Regions from separate parts of the Homo sapiens genome. Here region 2 is linked to region 1. Evidence: promoter capture Hi-C in 16 types of primary human blood cells and fetal thymus (Javierre and others, 2016). All regions are on one chromosome and are shown on one strand. Each heading gives the region's core, a stretch centred on a gene start or on the middle of the fragment in contact. The rest is flanking DNA. Distances are from core to core; before and after follow the strand shown.

What was found. The method cuts DNA at HindIII sites, captures the fragments that hold promoters and counts their contacts. A CHiCAGO score of 5 or more calls a contact.
Region 2: a contact is called between a fragment that was not itself captured here and the fragment with the promoter of NCAPD3 in region 1, in 1 of 17 cell types (monocytes). The highest score is 9.7, in monocytes.

The regions. Positions count from the first base shown.
Region 1 is chr11:134,222,431-134,225,615 of GRCh38, forward strand. NCAPD3 (non-SMC condensin II complex subunit D3) reads right to left here and starts at 1,537. Exons shown (of 35, transcript NM_015261.3): 1 at 1,433-1,537. The coding sequence starts at 1,496. It overlaps VPS26B (VPS26 retromer complex component B), which reads left to right and starts at 2,241. Exons shown (of 6, transcript NM_052875.5): 1 at 2,241-2,915. The coding sequence starts at 2,693. RefSeq lists enhancers at 1,978-2,027, 2,818-2,877, 2,978-3,127 and a silencer at 2,148-2,617. The HindIII fragment of the contact is 9,666 bases long and covers 1-3,185 here.
Region 2 is chr11:125,599,829-125,603,318 of GRCh38, forward strand. It overlaps STT3A (STT3 oligosaccharyltransferase complex catalytic subunit A), which reads left to right. Exons shown (of 18, transcript NM_152713.5): 4 at 2,475-2,596; 5 at 2,975-3,120. Among named protein-coding and RNA genes, the nearest start is that of STT3A, 8.7 kb to the left of the region's middle. The HindIII fragment of the contact is 3,235 bases long and covers 612-3,490 here.

The DNA.
Region 1 (3,185 bases), core at 287-2,786:
AGGCCACTGAATTTTGAGTCAGAACGAGGCAAATATCCTGACTTGATCACTTACACATAATTAGTCTCTCCTTCATCATTGGAAATACAGGATTTTTGTGAAACATAATGTGTATAAAGGCCCTAACAATGTGCTAGCCACATAAAAAACAGTCAATAGATGGTATTTATTATTTTTGCTATGGATGAGTGTTAAAATAATAGATATGTAAAATGTAAAATGCTACAGAGCTTAATAGGGAATAGTACTGGGGGAGGAGGGAGAGGAATAAGATGATTCTTCAATTGGACCTGAATGTAAGAGTTTTGCCAGGCAAATAAATGCAGAAAAGTGCCTCCCAGCAAGCACAGTGTAACAAAGCACACAAAGGGAAAGAAATTAAAGTGTTTCTAAATGAACAAAATTGTTACAGTGTTTGCTTGTGGGTATTAGTATCTGTTCAGCAGTTATTATGTGGCAAGTACAAATTTATCTTTACAAAAACCCCTGTGAGGTAGATATTGTACTCCCCATTTGACAGATCAGAAAACAGGGGTTTAGCAAGGATAAACAACCTGCACGGTAATACATGGATGCTATGGGGTAGAGCCAAGGGAACAATCCAAGTGTGTCCGACTCCAAAGGTTATGCTCTTGGAAAATCAAACTGGAGAGAATGGCAGCTCTTATAAAGCATGCCAAGGATGTGGTCATTTATTTAGGAAACAAAGGGGAAACATTAAAGGTGTACAGGCTTGACACATTCAAAGCTGTGTTTTCAAAAGTCGTTCTGCAAAAGTGTGGGGGATGGGCTGGCACAGTTAACATCAGAAAGCAGCTAAAATACTCCTGCAATTGCTCGAGGCTATGATGAAGGCAGCAGCATCAGGAATGGAGCGGGGCTGCCCTGAGACACCTCAGAGGCAGGACAGTGGTAGTGGGCATGAAAGGGGAAGCAGAAATGCCATGACTCCTGGGTTGGTGGCTTGGATGGTGCCATTAGCAGGCTTTGGGAATCCCATTTTCACTCATGTGACGTTTGATGATGTCTGCATGTGAGACATCCAGTGGAACCTATGAACATGAAGTTCAAGAAATAAGTCTGGCGGAAGAAAGAGATTTGCAATTTAAAACCATCTTAATAGGTAAGAATAGATAGGTGCACGAAGACACGCACAGGAAGAAGGGGAAGGCCGAGAAAACAGATGCACAGGCGCTAGAAGAGACTGGCCAACATTCGCTTATTCTAAGGGTGGCCTGGCCGGCTTGAGCCCCCACGGGAAACCTGGCTAGCCGCAATCCTGGCGTGGCACGGCCCTGGGGACCCCAGGCACCGCCGACAGCCGGGCGCCCCCACCCCGCCCCCACCGGCACCCCGGCCCGGGCTTAGGCATCGTCGGGGACGCATAGGACCCTCGCCCTGGCCCCCGGGCCTCCCGGCTGCATCTGCTCACCGAGTCTAAGATCCAGCGGACACCAGGGCTGCAGGCCGCTACCAAGGCCCCGCAACGCCACCATGATCCCAGGGCACCGGCTCGCCGCCGCCGTGCTCAACTTTCAAAGCTCGCTCCCGCGCGCGCGCCGAGTCGTTCCTGTGGACCAATCACAACGTACAGAATTTCCCACTGGCCAACCACCGCGCCGAGCCGTTTCCATTCGCTCAACCAATCACCGGCGTCGTCCGCCGCACGCTCAGAGAACTGGGCGGGCCGAAAAGTGGAAGCCAAACAAGGCTCCTGCGGGTGTTCCGCTAATTCGTTCGAGAAGGAGCCAGGGCCTGAGTTAAACCCTAACAGCGTTTTTCCCGCCTCGTTTTTCTTCAATGGGGGAAAATCTAAAGGGTATCTGAGATAGGGTACTTCCGGTAGTAACTGTCACCTTTGCCCTCGTCAGGCGACATTTCGCGTGCGTGTCAAAGGGCTGCCTTTCCCGTCAGCACTCGAACAGCGTAATATCCGAATGTGAAAGGCAGCCCAACGTGTATCGAGCTAAAGTAATAAGGGAAAAGTAGCCGAAAGCACTCCGAGAAGACAAGACAACTGCAGTTCTGTAGGGACTGCGCGGCACGCGTGGGCCCAGAGCCTGTCCCAGCGAGGTAGCAGCTGCCATGCCGACCGCTGGAGCGCCGGCCGCGCTCTCCCTGCGCATGCGCAGCGAGCTCTCCTCCGGGCTGCCGGGAGTCCCAGGAGCGTTAGGGGGTGCGCCTGCGCGCCGCTGCTCCAGCGCATCCGGGCTGGAGCTCGCCCGCCCCCTCCCCCGCCCGGAGCCGCCGAAGCGCCTCGGTGCGTTGCACCGCCGGAGGCTGGGCAGCTCGCAGCGCTGCTCGGCGCTGGACCCCACCCGGCAGGCGCAGGCCACCCACACCCGGCTCTGTGCGGCTGCCCCCCGCAGCATTGCACGGCCGACCCTCGCCCGCCCACTGCCACCGGCCGCGGGACTGGCTGGGACTGGCTCGGCCGAGGGCACTGCTCCTCGGTGCATTGCTGCTCGGGCGCCGCAGCCCGCAGCCGCCAGCCTCCCCCGGCCGTGCCCCTCCCCCGTGGAGCCGGCTGTCCGTCGGCGCCCACTGCCCGGCGGCAGCGGCGGAGCCAGGCAGCCCCGCGGCGGCCGAGCGCGCTCGCGCATCGGGCCCTCTGGCCTTCTTTACCTAGGGCAGCCCGCGCCCCGGTGCGAGGGAGCGGTCCTTACCGAGACCCGCCCGGCCCGGCGGTGCGATGAGCTTCTTCGGCTTCGGGCAGAGCGTGGAGGTGGAAATCCTTCTGAACGATGCAGAGAGTAGGAAGCGGGCCGAGCACAAGACGGAGGACGGGAAGAAGGAGAAATATTTCCTCTTCTACGACGGGGAGACGGTCTCCGGGAAGGTGAGCCTTGCCCTCAAGAACCCCAACAAGCGGCTGGAGCACCAGGGCATCAAGATCGAGTTCATCGGGCAGATCGGTGAGTCGACCCCCGGGACCCCCTCCCCCAGCGCCGACAGCCGGCCGGGGAGCAGGGTGATTCAGGGCCCAGCTCCTCCGGCGAGGCCTGTCACAGTCGCTTGTCAACTGCAGTCTGAGGCCTGGGGTTCAGCTACAAGTCCCGCCCGTGGGCGACTCCCCCTGCGTTACTGTCCTCCCTGCCAAAAGTGACAGCGCGCTGCCAGGGAGATGGGGACGGCGAGGGCGGGAGGAAGCGCCCTGCTGTGCCTCGTGGGATGGGCACCTTGCC
Region 2 (3,490 bases), core at 979-3,478, 8.6 Mb before region 1:
CAAGCGATTCTCCTGCCTCAGCCTCCTAAGTAGCTGGGATTACAGGCACGCGCCACCACGCCTGGCTAATTTTTGTATTTTTTGTAGATTGGGTCTTGTCATGTTACACAGGCTGGTCTCAAACTTCTGTGCTCAAGCGATCCATCCACCTCTGCCTCCCAAAGTGCTGGGATAACAGGCATTAACTACTACGCCGGCCTCTTATTTATTTTTATTTGTTATTATTATTAATTTTTTTTGAGATGGAGTTTTGCTCTTGTTGCCCAGGCTGGAGTGCAATGGCACAATCTCAGCTCACCACAACCTCTGCCTCCCGGGTTCAAGCGATTCTCCTGCCTCAGCCTCCTAAGTAGCTAGGATTACAGGCATGCGCCACCACGCCTGGCTAATTTTGTATTTTTAGTAGAGACAGGGTTTCTCCATGTTGGTCAGGCTGGTCTCGAACTCCCGACCTCAGGTGATCCACCTGCGTCGGCCTCCCAAAGTGCTGAGATTACAGGAGTGAGCCACTGCGCCTGGCCTTATTATTATTATTATTTATTTTATTTTTTGAGACAGGGTCTTGCTCTGTCACCAGGCTGGAGTGCAATGGCATGATCAGGGCTCACTGAAGCTTCAACCTCCCTGGGCTCAGGTGATCCTCTTATTTCAGCCTCCTGAGTAGCTGGGACTACAGGCGTGTGCCACTAAGTCCTGCTGATTGTTGTATTTTTTTTTAGAAACAGGGTCTCTCTATGTTGCCCAGGCTGATCTTGAACTCCTGAGCTCAAGTGATCCACCTGCCTTGGCCTACTAAAGTATTGGGATTACAGGTGTTATCTACCTCACCCAGCCTTATTTCTTTTTAAATAAGAAACTTAAGGACTTACATATTTTGGGCCTAAAGAACTATCTTTCCATTTAAAGCTCTTAAGCATTTTATGTCAAATATTTTTCATGTTGTCTATGTATCTGTGTATCTTTCTATATTTTTTTTGAGAAAGGGTCTTGCTCTGTTGCCCAGTCTGGAGCACAGTGTTGTGATCATGGCTCACTGTAGCCTTGACCTCCTGGACTCAAGCAGTCATCCCACTTCAACCTCCTGAGTGGCTGAGACTATAGGTGTGTGCCACCATGCCTGGCTAATTTTTAAAAAATGTTTTGTAGAGACAGAGTCTCACTGTGTTGCCCAGGCTGGTCTTGAACTGGGCTTAAGCGATCCTCTTGCCTCAGTCTTCCAAAGTGCCGGGCTTACAGGCATGAGCTGCCATGCCTGGCTGTAATCTATATTTTTATGCTTCTATATAGGTGACATAAGAAGCATTTTAGATAACCACATGAGTAGACCTTGTTAAAAGTTTAAACACTGATTAAGAAAGTTGTGTTATGAAGTAGGTTAAAATTTTTTCATCCTGCATATGATGGTATACCAACATCTTTAAAGATTCTCATCACTGGAAATTATTCATGTGTCTTTGTGTGCAGTATAGATTTTTAAAAATATGTTCCTGTCACTTAAAAGCCAGAATCTGGCCAGGCATGGTGGCTCACACCTGTAATCCAAGCACTTTGTGAGGCTGGGGCAGGTGGATCACCTGAGGTCAGGAGTTTGAGACCAGCCTGGCCAATATGGTGAAACCCTGCCTCTACTAAAAATACAAAAATTAGCTGGGCATTGTGGCGAGCGCCTGTAATCCCAGTTACTTTCAGAAGGCTGAGGCAGGAGAATGGCTTGAACTCCGTAGGCAGAGGTTGCAGTGAGCCGAGATCGTGCCATTGTGCTCCAGCCTGGGCAACAAGAGCGAAACTCTGTCTCAAAAAAAAAAATAAATAAGAAAGCCAAAATCTATTGGTGCCCACATCTCAGTGGCTTTGTCTTCATGGTGCTTGAATTCTCTGACTGGTCCTAATGCCTACCACATGTCAGCTTGTTGAAGTATCCCATTTGATTGCTTTGTTACAATGTTAGGCTCCAGTTTCATTTCCTTTTTATTTATTTATTTTTTTTTCTGAGATGGAGTCTTGCTCTGTTGCCCAGGCTGGAGTGCAGTGGCAATCTCGGCTCACTGTAACCTCTGCCTCCAAGGTTCTAGCGATTCTCCTGCCTCAGCCTCCTGAGTAGCTGGGATTACAGGCACATGCCACCGTGCCCAGCTAATTTTTGTATTTTTAGTAGAGATGGGGTTTCAACATGTTCGTCAGGCCAGTCTCGAACTCCTGACCTTGTGATCCACCTGCCTCGGACTCCTAAAGTGCTGAGATTATAGGCATGAGCCACTGCACCCGGCTCATTTCCTTATGAGAAAAGCAGTGCTTTAGTTGAGACAAGCATGGAGATAGAAGTAAACAGACTTATGGTAGTGTAAAATGATTTTCATGGCATAATATCTGATGTTAAACTGATTTTTCATTGAGTAATGCTGAATTTCTCAATGGTGTATCCTGAGGAGCAAAATTCACCACAAATTTACAACAAAGTTTATTTCTTGCTATAGGTACTTTAATTATCGGACTACCAGGTTCCTGGCTGAGGAGGGGTTTTATAAATTCCATAACTGGTTTGATGACCGAGCCTGGTACCCTTTGGGACGAATCATTGGAGGAACAATTTACCCAGGTGAGGAGACCAGATGTGTTTTTTTTTTTAAAAAAAAAACAGAAATATTTGTATGCTAGAGAACCAGTTTCTTTTATTTCTAATAGCTTTGTCTTGTGACACTTGTAATTTCATCCTGATTACAGGTTCCTAAAAGTGCATCTTACATAAACAGGAGTACATTTGTAGTAGAGTGGAGATGGGTGGTTTTTATACATTCTAGACTTCTGATTGAATCCTTAGGGGAGAAATTTATAGGCTTACTGCAGTTGCTATGTTAGTATTTCTGGTGATTTGTCAAGACTTACATAGTCACTTTATTGTATCTGGGATTTTCCCTTTCTTTTTCCCTTAAGTTCTGGTAAGACAACCTAATGGAGTTTCTTCTTCCTGTTACAGGTTTAATGATCACCTCTGCTGCAATCTACCATGTACTCCATTTTTTCCACATCACCATCGACATTCGGAATGTCTGTGTGTTCCTGGCCCCTCTCTTCTCCTCCTTCACCACCATCGTCACGTACCACCTTACCAAAGAGCTCAAGGTGAAGGATTTGGGGTGACAGGAGGCTTGGGAATGAATGTTATTGAGCCTCTCTAATCGATGCTGGAGGGTGGGGGACAGAGCCTTAGAAAGGCAGGGAGCCAGAAGGTGAAGACAGCTTTTACTGGGCCAAATTAATTGGCTTCACTCCAACCCCTTTCTGCAATATGTGTTTTTTATCATTAGCAACTGTTTGTCCTTATGAGAGTACAGTTGAAAGTGAAATGTAAATTGCAACATAAAGAAAAAAACATTTAAAATGCAAAATGTGAGGTTTGGATTTTGAAGTCCTCACAATGTAAGGGAGAGGAAAAAAAAACTACATGAAACATTCCAAAACGGTTAGTTTTTCCTACCAGGAATGTACTCAG